5 separate regions of the Homo sapiens genome follow, and all the other regions are linked to region 1. The links are contacts of gene promoters, found by promoter capture Hi-C in blood cells and fetal thymus (Javierre and others, 2016). All regions are on one chromosome and are shown on one strand. The core of a region is centred on a gene start or on the middle of the fragment in contact, and the rest is flanking DNA. Distances in the headings are between cores, read along the strand shown. Region 1 holds the start of AKAP3 (A-kinase anchoring protein 3). Region 2 overlaps PARP11 (poly(ADP-ribose) polymerase family member 11). Region 3 overlaps PARP11 (poly(ADP-ribose) polymerase family member 11). Region 4 overlaps PARP11-AS1 (PARP11 antisense RNA 1). Region 5 overlaps PARP11-AS1 (PARP11 antisense RNA 1).

What was found. Contacts are between HindIII fragments. The CHiCAGO score rates a contact against its expected background, and 5 or more counts as called.
Region 2: a fragment that was not itself captured here is called in contact with the fragment with the promoter of AKAP3 in region 1 in 2 of 17 cell types (activated CD4 T cells and total CD4 T cells); the score reaches 5.7 in activated CD4 T cells.
Region 3: a fragment that was not itself captured here is called in contact with the fragment with the promoter of AKAP3 in region 1 in 5 of 17 cell types (naive CD8 T cells, total CD8 T cells, total B cells and 2 more); the score reaches 5.7 in naive CD8 T cells.
Region 4: a contact is called between a fragment that was not itself captured here and the fragment with the promoter of AKAP3 in region 1, in 1 of 17 cell types (total CD8 T cells). The highest score is 5.1, in total CD8 T cells.
Region 5: a contact is called between a fragment that was not itself captured here and the fragment with the promoter of AKAP3 in region 1, in 1 of 17 cell types (naive CD4 T cells). The highest score is 5.9, in naive CD4 T cells.

The regions. Positions count from the first base shown.
Region 1 is chr12:4,647,801-4,650,417 of GRCh38, forward strand. AKAP3 (A-kinase anchoring protein 3) reads right to left here and starts at 1,251. Exons shown (of 6, transcript NM_001278309.2): 1 at 945-1,251. NDUFA9 (NADH:ubiquinone oxidoreductase subunit A9) reads left to right here and starts at 1,314. Exons shown (of 11, transcript NM_005002.5): 1 at 1,314-1,375. The coding sequence starts at 1,327. RefSeq lists enhancers at 676-725, 1,006-1,215, 1,084-1,739. The HindIII fragment of the contact is 2,310 bases long and covers 1-2,291 here.
Region 2 is chr12:3,812,626-3,815,242 of GRCh38, forward strand. It overlaps PARP11 (poly(ADP-ribose) polymerase family member 11), which reads right to left. Exons shown (of 8, transcript NM_020367.6): 7 at 1,412-1,563. Among named protein-coding and RNA genes, the nearest start is that of PARP11-AS1, 56 kb to the right of the region's middle. The HindIII fragment of the contact is 3,710 bases long and covers 1-2,617 here.
Region 3 is chr12:3,860,055-3,862,671 of GRCh38, forward strand. The region is part of intron 1 of PARP11 (poly(ADP-ribose) polymerase family member 11); the gene reads right to left. Among named protein-coding and RNA genes, the nearest start is that of PARP11-AS1, 8.8 kb to the right of the region's middle. The HindIII fragment of the contact is 5,372 bases long and covers 1-2,617 here.
Region 4 is chr12:3,877,852-3,880,468 of GRCh38, forward strand. The region is part of intron 1 of PARP11-AS1 (PARP11 antisense RNA 1); the gene reads left to right. Among named protein-coding and RNA genes, the nearest start is that of PARP11, 5.8 kb to the left of the region's middle. The HindIII fragment of the contact is 857 bases long and covers 885-1,741 here.
Region 5 is chr12:3,895,511-3,898,127 of GRCh38, forward strand. All of the region lies in intron 1 of PARP11-AS1 (PARP11 antisense RNA 1), which reads left to right. Among named protein-coding and RNA genes, the nearest start is that of PARP11, 23 kb to the left of the region's middle. The HindIII fragment of the contact is 880 bases long and covers 862-1,741 here.

The sequences.
Region 1 (2,617 bases), core at 1-2,500:
AAGGTTTTTTTCTCTCTTCCAATTCAATTTGTTAGGCGACACTTCAGTAAACAGTAGGGGCAAGATAGAGTGGAAACAGCCAAGATTTCAAGCCTAGTAATAAGCAACTTCTACATCCCTACTCATCACAGGCCTTTTTGTCTATCCCAGAAACACATACTTTTCCTGAAAAAACAAAGCACTGGAAGGATTACCAAGTCTAGAAAGAACCCGCCCTCCCCAAACTAGGTGGTTTTCTGATAAGCCTAAGGTATGTTTCACAGGATCACTGGTTGCCATCTCCTACCCAGCAATCTGGAGAGGTTGACCAGAATAAAGTATTTTAAAATCCAAGCGCTTAGTCTAACCTGGAATTTCCTCAGTTTCTAGATGGCTCTTTGTAGAACAATGCAGATTCTCAAAGGTGACCACAGTTAAAGAAAAAATTACAAGCCATTGCGCTAGAGAGAGCCATCTGCAGTTTCTCCTTAGACAGATGTTCAGATGGCACACATGGCCACTAAATTTGCATAATATTTCAGGAAGTTCACAGATTTCCCGAAGCCCACTCATGAATCACACTTCTGGTTAAGAACTCCTAGATTCATATGCTAGTTGGTGATAAGTGCTTTGGTATATAAACTTAAACCAAAAATTGGTGGAATAATTACCACCTTGGATAGGATGGTCAGAGAAGTTTTATCCGAAGAGGTCACTTTTGAGCAGAGACTTGAGCTGGTGCAGACACCTGAGTGTGCATTCCAGGAAACGCGAACAGCAGGCGCAAGGGTCCCTATGAGAGAATGTGCTTGGCGGGCTCGACGCACATTTATTTACTTGGGACACACCCTATTTTGGTTTCTCTTCTCCACTTTTCCCCTCGTTCTTGTCCCCCCTTTTCTCTCTCCTGGGCCCTGGATCTCCTGAGCGCGGAGGGCTACGCCTCCTTCTTCCTCCGGACTCACCAGGGCTGCCAGCTTAGCTTACATTTTCAGGGAACAGGAAACTGAGAGTCAGGAAAGGTGAGCTCTTCTACCTCGGGTCTTGCCATTTTGCATGTCCTGAGTCAGTCACTGGTTAACTCTGAACTTCAGGTTCCTCGGCAATTAGAGATTATAAATAGCCTATACAGCCTATTCCAGATCTGAGATTCCAACAGCCAAAGTCTTTTCACTTCCTTTCTTCCCCCTCTCCTTCACTTTCCCAGCTTTCTTCTTAACCAACAATCTACCCGAAACCGTCGTTTCTTGGTTAGCGCTTGCGCAGACAGGCGAGAAAGGTAAGTTTTGACCCAGCTTAGCAGCCGTAGTCAGCCGGGAGTGCTGTCGTGGGGGATTGTGGGAAAAGATGGCGGCTGCCGCACAATCCCGGGTTGTCCGGGTCCTGTCAATGTCACGTAAGTGTTACCGGGAACGGCGGCCCCTGGTCGGGATTCCGAGACGGGGATTTAAGGTTTTGGAAGTGGCACCGTGCTGCAGCGGTCACGCCAACTTCCTAGGCACACTCTGGTTTCTCTAGGTTTGGAGCTGCCTCAGTCTGGTTTCTCCTTTCGCTTTCCGCTTCCCCGGCTCACATATTCAATTGTGCACCACCTTGGGAGGGGACAAAAGATCTTAAGCAGCTGTAAGCGAAGAGGAGAATGCGGGGGACACGTTAGGGATCGAGAGAATCAGAATTCTGATATGGTTGTAAGGGTTTAGGGTTATGAGAAATATTTGTATGGGGCGGGGGGAGAAATGTGTAAGGGAGGGAAAAAAGGCTAGTGGCGAGAGGTTTTCTTAGATTGATTTTATGACCTTGTGCAAACCCTTAATGGGTCTCAATTCATATGAGCACAATGGAAATGATAATATTACAATACCAGGGAGTCTCTGATAAGATTAAATGAGCTAATATTTGTAAAAGCATCCTTTTACCCAAAAGCGTCTCTACGGATGTAGAATGTGTTCGGCAAAGTGCGTTGGGGTCTGGGGGAGAGAGTGATGTTTGAGGAGAGAAGAATCAGGAGCTTGGTGGAAAGGAAAGTGAAGAATGAAGGCTATGTTAGAATTTGTTAGCATTATTTAGTTTCTCTTCTGTTCTGATTGGATCTGCTCCCACTCCTCAAACTGAAAACATACATTTGTCCTTCCACTCACTAAAAAGCAAGGAAATTAGAAATACGGTTACACTTCATCATTGTCCTTTCACCCTCTACTCTTCCACAAACATATTCCAATCAAACCCCCAAAGTTGTATTTTTCTTAGTGTATTTTAGTCGTTACAGAATATCATTTGCTTTCAAAATTGGCTCATGTCAGAATCACTCGTAAAGCTTTATAAAAATTAGAAATGAGGACTGAGTGTAGAGCTATTGAGTCAGAATTTGTGAGATTAGCTCCTTGCACCTTAAATTTTTAAAAGCACCACAGATAGGCTTGATGTTCAGCCTGAGGCAAGAATTAGGAGTGTTTAGAGGATCCTTTTTTTTTTGTTTTCCATCTTGGGTAGAACTCCTGCATACCACTGGGAAGGTGGTGGTGCACATCACTTATAGTGGATGGTTTTGTAGTCACAATGTCTTTGCAAAGACATTTGCTGGTTCTTGTTAAACTATTACAATTGTATGACGTAATGTAGATTGTGAATGGTAATCACT
Region 2 (2,617 bases), core at 70-2,569, 840 kb before region 1:
CTGCCATAGGAATAGATTTGTTGGTACAGACCAGTCCTCACCACCAACACCATCCCCTGCCCCCACCAAAATATAGCTATCAGACTTCTGTTTTTAAAATAAATCTTACAAAGAAAACAATTAATAAAACAGATAAAACTGGTTTAATGATTAAAAGTGTGGTTGGACCTGAGTTTTGTTTTGTTCTGTTTTTTTGAGACAGAGTCTTGCTCTGTCTCCCAAGCTGGAGTGCAGTGGCGCGATCTCAGCTCACTGCAACCTCCGCCTCCCAGGTTCAAGCGATTCTCCTCCCTCAGCCTCCTGAGTAGCTGGGATTACAGGCGCGTGCCACCACACCCAACTAATTTTTATATTTTTTTAGTAGAGACAGGGTTTCACCATGTTGGCCAGGCTGATCTTGAACTCTTGACCTCAGGTGATCCACCTGCCTCGACCTCCCAAACTGCTGGGATTACAGGCGTGAGCCACCATGCCCGGCCCTGAGTTTTACTGCTTGGCCCTCCCTCCCGTTTCTATTTCCTTTCACCACTTCCTCACCCTGTTCCCTTGTCAACATCCAGCAAAGCTCTAGAGAGCACAGTGGAAACCGATGGCCTACAGGGATTCTTTTAAACCCCAAGAAACCGTATTTCTATGATATGGGATAACAATTCAGTAATATTTCTGGAAACAATAGAATCCCATATCCATGAAAAGATTTCTGAGAGAGTATAATGCTATTCATATCTGAGCATTCCAAAACAAAAATGATTTTACTGGCTCACTGCCTACACATGAAAACTCGATAAAGCAGCCAACTCTTCTGAAATGGTAGACACAAGAGATAGACATCATTAAGGGCATTCTTACTCTAAAAAAATGTGGAAATGAATTGCAAAGTCTCATATTTACCTAACACTGATGGGATTTATGTAACACCTTCTGACCTCCTTACAGTTAAATAAGTGGAATGGCCTTTTTAGTAGTTATTTTTTAAATTAATTTACATTTTCAAAATGCAGCATATCCTGATCCTAAACAGTAGTCAGTTCTCTTGCTGGAAGCAAGGTACAAAGTAAGGACCAGAAAATTAAATGTACATCCCATACCTTTTCCCCTCACCTCTCTCCTTAATTTGCCTGAGTACCAGACATAAATTGAAAAACTTGGATTTTCACAACATTATAAATAACGTGAAGTTTTCCCCCACTATTCCTTATTGCTCACTAATATTCTTACCTATGATTTTCTTAAAAACAAAATAAAACAAAAACACTAGTATCTATTCTCGTACACAATGCAATTATAATCCATTTGTTTTATCATTCTCTATATATTTGCCATAAAGCAGTTCATATTTATATTTATATTCCTCTAAAAAGAGGAAACTCTCTCCTGGGGCTCAAATTGGACCTGGAATTCTGATAATTACCTTTTCCAAAGACAGCACCATGTATACCATTTATTCTCCAATCAAAGTTATGAATGCAGATTGCTTCCACAAATTCACTGCTGGTACCATGAAACAGCATTTGTTCATTAATCTGAGGCACACCTCTTTTTTTCTTGAGCTGAGCCTTTTTCCTAAAAACACAATATACACAGACACAAAAGCACACAGAAATATACCATAAGTAGCATTTATTAATCTTAATGAGCAAGGTTCAATAGAAAGCGTAAAACAGGAAATACTTTAATATAAATAACAAGTGGACAAAGCAAGTCTAGAAAAGAAATAATTTCAAATGTTCTTGGACACATAAATCATCTCATCAAAAATTATTAGTTAACACTGAAACTTAAGGTTGAAAATTATGCCAAAAACTATAGTTATCCCATGCTATGCCCCAATATCATAAAGGTAATTGATTGTCTAAACCAGCTAACCTTTATAGATGCCTAAAAATGAGACAACAAACAAGTAATACAAAGTTTGCAGAGACTTTAGACAGTGAATTCCTTGAGCAGGGATCATGTCATATGCTTTTTATCCTCAGAAACTAGAAAATGTTGGTTCAGTTGACTAAATTTTGCACCATAGGGTTGGGAGGGACATTAAGCCATCCAGTTTAATCCTCTTCCCAAGGATAAATCTATCCTAACACATAAAAGCATATTTAATGTAGGACTGATTGTAACAGAAAACAAAAACTGAAAACAGCCTAAAATTATTTCACAGAGAAATGAATATAGTCATGTATTTACATATAAAAGTTAAAAGTAATGAAGTAGATCTATGTGCATTAACATAGTAAATCTTAAAAAATAATATTGAATGTAAAAAGAATTTTGCAAAAAGAGATAGAGAACTCAAAATAATACTGTGTATTATGTAGGTATACATACACAGGTAGTAAAAAATACAAAATACAAACAATAAGGCACCATACCAATCTCAGGAGGAAAGAAGGAGAGTAGGACAGGGATGGAGTAAACACTTCACCTGTATCTGTGTGAAGAGGAAGGAAATGTGACAAGTATCAAAATGTTAAATCTGATTGGTAGATACATGGGAGTCTGCAAACTATTTGCTGCATTTTCATTCTTGAAACATTTCATAAAAATCATATTTTAAAAATTAAAAAGAATCCCCTCCCCCGGCTTCTGATAGCTCTTTAATGCCTGCTTCAATTCATCC
Region 3 (2,617 bases), core at 34-2,533, 790 kb before region 1:
GCAAAAAAGAACCAGTACTTAAAGATGCAGAAAATTCTCAACCTACCCATATTGAAAAGAATGAGAAAGTCTGTTCAGAGGACAACACTAAGGTTGTGGTCAAATGATCATTTGATAAGATTAGTATGGATGTGGACCGCCCCAGCAGGACAACTGCCAATTTGAAATGAAAAAATAGTAGATGGGAAGAAATGAAGGAGGGTTGGTAGACTTCTTGGATTTTTCAGGATGGGACCATAGAGCAATTCAGCTGCAAATGTGTGCTCTTCTTTAAGACAAGGAAGGACCCTAAAAGCAATTCAGAGATCATCCGGGATGCTTCCTTGGTTCAACAAAAGAAGGGACCACTGCCTTGCTTTCAATAGGCCAGATGGCTCATGAGGGCTGGACCTCTCAAAGCCCAGGGATTGTGACCAACCCCATCAGAGGGTCCAGAAGGCAGCACTTCCACTTCTCTGGAAGGCAGAGCATCAAGCCAATCATTCATTTTGTAGCCTTAAGATTTCATGGAACTTGCTCGGGACCTGTCACCCCTTTCTTCCTTCCTTTTTCTCCCTTTCAGAATGGAATGTCTACCCTATGACTAGCACACCACTATATTTTTTAACTTTTTAATTTTTTTAGAGACAGGGTCTTGCTCTGTTGTCTTGCACTTTAGTCTTGTCCAGGCTAAAGTGCAGTGACACATCATAGCTCACTGCAACCTCGAACTCCTAGTATCAAGTGATCCTTGTGCTTCAGCTTCCTGAGGAGCTGGGACTACAAGCACATGACACCACGTCTGGCCAATTAATTTTTCAATTTTTTCAGAGACAGTCTTGCCATGTTGCTCAGGCTGGTCTTCAACTCCTGGCCTCAAGTGATCCTCCCACCTCAGCCTGCCAGGTAGCTGGGATTACAGGCACAAGCCACCAAACTCAGACCACCATTGCATTTTGGAAGCACATATTTGGTTTCACAGGGTCACAGCTGGAGGAGAATTTGCCTCAGGATGAATCATACCTTGGGCTCAACTGCATCTGATTTAGATAATATTTAGATGAGATGTTGGACTTTAAAGTTGATGCTGGTATCAGTTAAGACTCTGGGGTGATTGGGATAAAATGAATGTAATTTGCATGCAACGAAGACACAAATTTTTCGTGGAGGGAAGGGCCAGGGCCAGAATGTTATAGACTAAACGTTTGTGTCCTTGCCAAATTATTATGTTGAAATTCTAACTCCTAATGTGATATGAAAATGGGGCCTTTGGGAGGTGATTAGATCATGAAGGCAAAGTCCTCATAAATGGCATTAAGGCTTTTCTTAATATTTGCCAATCTGATAGATGGGCAGTATTGTGGTTCTATTTTCCATTTCCCTAAAGAATAATGATGTTGAACATCTTTTCATGTTGTTATTTTCCATCTGCTTATCTTCTTTGGTGCAGTGTCTATTCATATCTTTAGCTCACTTTAAAAAATTGAGTTCCTTCTCTTGAGATTTCAGAGTTCTTAATATATTCTATGTACAAGTCATTTATCAGATATATGCTTTTTAAATACTTTCTCCCGTCTGTGGCTTATCTTTTCATTCTCCTAGAAGCATGTTTTCAACAGCAGAAGTTTTTAATTTTGATAAAGTCTGTTTTATCACTTTTTTTTTTCATCGATCATAGTCCTGGCATTGTAGCTAAAAAGAATCTTTGTGGCCAGGCGTGGTGGCTCACGCCTGTAATCCCAGTACTTTGGGAGGCCGAGGCGGGCGGATCACGAGGTCAGGAGATTGAGACCATCCTGGCTAACACGGTGAAACCCCGTCTCTACCAAAAATACAAAAAAATTAGCCAGGCGTGGTGGAGGGTGCCTATAGTCCCAGCTACTCGGGAGGCTGAGACAGGAGAATGGCGTGAACCCAGGAGGCAGAGCTTGCAGTAGGATGAGATAGCACCACTGCACTCCAACCTGGTTGATGGAGCGAGACTCCGTACCTAACCAATGCTGGCAGAAACCACACCAAAAAAACAAGCAGATGGAAAATACATGAAAAGATGTTCAACATGATTAGTCATTAGAGAAATACAAATTTTAAGATTTGAAAAAGATTTTTCTCAGCCAGGCATAGTGGCTCATCCCTGTAATCACAGCACTTTGGGAGGCTGCACCCAGAAGATTGAGACCAGGAGTTTTAGACTAGATCACTTGAAGTCAGTAGTTTGAGACTAGCCTGGGGAACATAGCAAAACCCCATCTCTACAAAAAATTTAAAAATTAGCTGGGCATGGTAGCATGCACCTGTAGTCCCAGCTACTTGGGAGACAGGCAAGAGGATTGCTTGAGCCCAGGAGTTCAATGTTACAATGAGCTATGATCACACCACTGCACTACAGCCTAGGCAACCAAGCATGACTCTGTCTCAAAAAAATAAATATATGTATTTTTTTTTCTATTTTTTTCACCTGGAAATTTGTAGTCTTAGATTCTGCATTTAGGTCTATGATCCATTTTTAGTAAATTTTATAGTTTATAAATTTTTCTATACTATATATTTTATTAGTATATTTTATATACTATATATATAATTTTTATAGTATAGCAAAGTATGGAGTGACGTTCATTTTTCTGCATATGGGTATCCA
Region 4 (2,617 bases), core at 63-2,562, 770 kb before region 1:
TCCTCTCCTCTCAAACTCTGTTGCTGCTATATCAACTGAGTTTGTGAAATATTTTCAGTCCTATGCTGACATTTCAGCAATGTTCACAGCATGATCGGCAGAAGTAGATTCTATCTCAGGAAACTTTCTTTGCTCATCCGTAAGAAGCAACTCCTCATTGGTTCAAGTTTCATCATGAGATTGCAGCAATTCAGTCACATCTTCAGGCTCCATTTCTAATTCTAGTTCTCTTGCTATTTCCATCACATCTGTAGTGACTGCCCTCCACTGAAGTCTTAAATCCCTCAAAGTCTTCCATAAGGACTGCAATCAACTTCTTTCAAACTCCTGTTAATGTTGGCATTTTAATCTTCTCCCATGAATCATGAATATTCTTAATATTATTTTCAATGGTAAATTATATACAAAAGGTTTTCAAATTATTTGTTCAAATCCATCAAAGGAATCACTATATATGGCAGCTATACCTTTACAAAATGTATTCCTTAAATAATAAGACTTGACAGTCAAAATAACTCCTTGATCTATGGGCTACAGAATGGATGGTGTGTTAGCAGGCATGAAAACAACATTAATTTCCTTGTACATCCTTATCTGTGCTCTTGGGTAACCAGGCACATTGTTAATGAGCAATAATATTTTGAAATAAATCTTTTTTTCTGGTGAGTAGATCTCAACAATGGGCTAAAAATATTCAATAAACCATGCTGTCAACAGAGGTGCTGTCATCTAGGCTTTGTTGTTCCATTTCGAGAGCACAGACAGAGTAGATTTAACATCATTCTTAAGGGCTCTAAGGTTTTCAGAAATGGTAAATGAACATTGCCTTCAACTTAGTCATCAGCTGCATTTGCTCCTAAAAAGAGAGTCAGCTTTTTCTTTGAAGCTTTGAGGCCAGGCATTGACTTTTACTCTCTAGCTATGAAAGTGCTAGATGGCATGTTCTTCCAATAGAAGGCTGTTTTGCTTACACTGAAAATCCGTTGTTCAGTGGAGCCACCTTCATCAATAATTTCAACTAGATCTTTTGGATCACATGCTGCAGCTTCTCCACCAGCCCTGTTGCTTCACCTTGCACTTTTATGTTATGGAGATGGCTTCTTTCTTTTTTTTTTTTTCTGTTTTGAGACAGAGTCTCACTCTGTCACCCAGGTTGGAGTGCAGTGGCACCATCTCGGCTCACTGCAAGCTCTGCCTCCCGGGTCTACACCATCCTCCTGCCTCAGCCTCCCGAGTAGCTGGGACTACAGGTGCCCACCACCATACCCAGCTAATTTTTTTGTATTTTTTTAGTAGAGACAGGGTTTCACCGTGTTGGCCAGGATGGTCTTGATCTCCTGACCTCGTGATCCACTCACCTCAGCCCCCCAAAGTGCTGGCATTGCAGGCATGAGCCACTGCGCCCGGCGCATGGAGATCTCTTCTTTCTTAAACCTCATTAACCAACCTCTGATAGCTTCAAGCCTCTTCTGCAGCTTCTTCACTTCTCTCAGCCTTCATAGAATTGAAGAGAGTTAGGGCCTTGCTCTGGATTAGGCTGTGTTGTGGCTGGTTTGATCTTCTATCCAGACCACTGAAACTTTCTCCATAGCAGCAATACAGTTTTTTTCACTTTCTTATCATTGTGTGTTTACTGGAGTAGCACTTTTAAGAATTTTCCCTTTGCATTCACAACTTGGCTGTTTGGTACAACAGACCTAGATGTTGGCCTATCTTGGCTTTTGACACACTTTCCTCACTAAGCTTAATCATTTCTAGTTTTGATTTAAAGTGAGAGACGTGTGTTCTTCCCTTTGCTTAAACACTTAGAGGCCATTGTAGGGTTATTAATTGGCCTACTTTCAATATTGTTGTGTCTCAGGGAATAAGGAGGCCCGAGGAGAGGGAGAGACACAGGGAAAGGGCTGGTTGATGGAGCAGTCAGAACACACACATTTATCAGTTAAGTTTGCTATCTTATATGAGTGCGGTTCATAACATCTTGAAACAATTCTAATAGTAGCACCAAAAATCACTGATCCCAGATTACCATGACAGATAGAATGATAATGAAAAATTTGGATTATTGTGAGCATTACCAAAATGTGACACAGAAACATAAAGAGAGCACATGCTGTTAGAAAATCGGAACTGATAGACTTGCTTGAGCAGGGTGCCACAAACTTTCAGTTTGTTAAAAAAAAAAAAAAAAGAAAAAGGAAAAGAAAAAAAAAAGCAACATCTGTGAAACATGATAAAGCAAAGTGCAATAAATAAAAGAAGGTGCGCCTGCAGACACCATGGAAATAGTGACTAAAGGGAGGATTCACATCTTGGGGAAAACGGGAAGGGAATGGCATGAGATTTCATTATGCTACTCAGAATGGCATGCAATTTTAAACATGAATTATTTATCTCTTGAATCTTAATATTTTCAGGTGATGGTTGACAGCGGAAAACTGAAATCGCAGGAAGTGAAATTGGGGCTGGGGGAATACCATTGTATAGTTGGTTCTCCATACCCATGGGTTACACAATCATGCATTCAACCAACCATGGATCAGAAATATTGAGAAAAAAATAGATGGTTGTGTCTGTACTGACCATGGACATTTTTTTTCTTGTCATTATTCCCTGA
Region 5 (2,617 bases), core at 52-2,551, 750 kb before region 1:
TTCCTGATCCTCAGCCTAGGTTCTGTCCACTCTATGATCTACGACGTGCATATTTTCAATGGTCTGTTAGTGGTGTCTAACCACGAAGGCAGGCTTAGCCAGACATTCTGATCGTGCCCAAGAGTCCTATTTAGAAGGTCATATGAACAGGCTCTCTTGCCCATACATACAGGCTTTAAAAAGTTGAATGATGTTCTTGTTAGACTCTGTGGTTTAAGAAACACAGTGCAAAAGGGAGTCCATTATTGGGAATGGAGGATCCTGGGACAAGCTGAGTGAAACAAGCACACTCTTTTTCGGAACCTCTTAAGATTCTGGGAGGCCCTTTCCAGGGGAATAATAAGGCCGAATTGAGTGCAAGAGACATATCTTTGATTTTCATAACCTTTGCTCCCTTCTTTTCCATATGGCAGAAGGCTTTCTCTCAGAAACCAGGAAAAACAATGGAGTATCAGCATAGCCTAAGGCAGTGCAAACTCAAACATCTAACAGGACCAAGCGGGGAATATAAATGAGGGGGAAGGTGGGGATTGGGGCAACCTGGAGAGGGCAGATCGCCACTACTCCACTTGGCCAATGGTTTCCATGGGGGAAATGTAGGGCCAGAGGTTCTCAAAAGTAGCTAGGATTCTAGAAGTGAACGTAAAATCTCCTAAGTTATAAATGTCGGCAATAAATCTAAACATTTTTTTAAATGCCATAGGGTCCAAAAAACACATCTTTGGGTGGAATGGTTTTGTGAGCTGCTTACCTATACCCGTAATGTAGGAAAAAGCACATGAGCAGTCCAATCACACTGCCTGAGTTTGACCCTTGGTTCTACCCACTGGTTTACAAAGTTACTCTAAGTCACTTAACTTAAGCTTCATTTTTCTCCATCTCTAAATCAGGACAGTGCTTCCAGGACTGACATGAAGATTAAATGAAAGAACGTAGTTGCTACTCAATATTAATTGTCCTTGTTTTTTGGATCTCTGCTCCCTCCCTTTTTTCTCATTGCACAATGAACTAGAAAAAACAGTTCCTCCACATTCTTATTTAAAGCAAACTAAGCAACGCTTTTTATCATTTGTCAGATTTTTTTTTACCATGATGAGCCTAAATACACTGTACTGGTTTCTAATCAGACCTCATTTGCAGCTGTGATTTTTGTGGTGGTTGTTGTTGTTGTACTATTTTGTTTTGTTTTGTTGTTTTGTTTTCAAAGAATGAGAGGACAGAAGAAGCATTAAAGCAACATTCTTTCCAAAATTAAATTCTGGCAATACAGTCTCCAGTGATCCTGACTAGGAAGCAAAGGGAAGACCCCGAGCCAGCAGGGGAAGCCCTCCAGCACTCTCAGGTTTTCAAAGAGCCTTTACAAAAGCACTAAGCAGGGCACATCACCGGAGAAGAAAAGCAAAGAGTGTCACAGGCTTGTAGCCATAGTGTTAGCAAGGCTGGGGCTCAGAATGAGCTGAGACTTGCAAAAAATGCTCAGGAACAGCAAAAAGAGCTTTGTGCAAGTATATTCTGAGCAGGAAGAATAGGGAAGGGCCAGATCCTGTGCTTGGGGCAGATGGTGTAATGCTAGCAGATGACAGATACAAAGCAGAATTATGCAACTCCTACTTAGCTTCCATCATCTCTATCTCTCAGAATGATCTTCAAACTGGAAAGAACAATATAAACACTGCAAAGAAGCAATTGCAGCCCTAGTTATGAAGCTCTTTAGAAAATGAATACCTGGGCTCTCTAAATAAGCTTAGATCTCCAGGCCCTGACAAATTCCATCCCTGGGGACTGAAAGAATTTGTAGATTTAATCATAGAATGATTGTCAGTAATCTTTCAGGAATCTCAGGAGTGATGCCAGAAGATTAGTGATGGGCAACTGTCCGAGTTGTCAAAAGGGGAAATATGTAGGTTTGGGGAACTTTGCACTGTTGAGTTTAACTTTGATCCCCAGCAAACTGTAAGCTGCATTATTAAGGAGTTAGATTACAATCGCTTTGAAAAGGAAGTGGTAATCTCAAGAAGCCAGCACAGGTTATGTAGAACAAACCATGTCATACTAACATCACTTCACATTTTTTTCTTTTTTGAAAGATTACCAAAACTCTCAAGATTGTCCCAGAGGTAGTGAATCTTTCAACAGGGCTTCCGACAACACATTTTATGGTACAATGAATGGATAGGGCCTGGGTGATCTATGGCTTGGTGAAGGCACAGCTAGGCAAACCATTGTATCCAAAAAGCACTGGACAGGCGGGGCCAAGTCAACTCAGAGAGAGGTGTAGCACAAGATGCCGCTAGTCCTTGTTTGGTGCCCGGTTCTGTGAAAATCCTTTCAATGACATGAAAGAGATGCCAACATATAAATATGAGTTGACACAAAATGAAGAAGTCTAAGTAATATGCCGCATGACAGAAACAGGATATGGTGGTTTGCCTGAACAAGGAGCCAAAATAAGCATGATGGAATTTAATGGAGAAAATGCAAGTTCTTCATATTGATTAAAAAAAAAAAAACTCAGTTATTCAAATTATTGACAATAGTTAATGGGAAAAAGTCTTGAAGATTGTAGTTAACAAAAAGCCCAACATGAGCCAAAAAATTCTGACATGGCTACAAAACA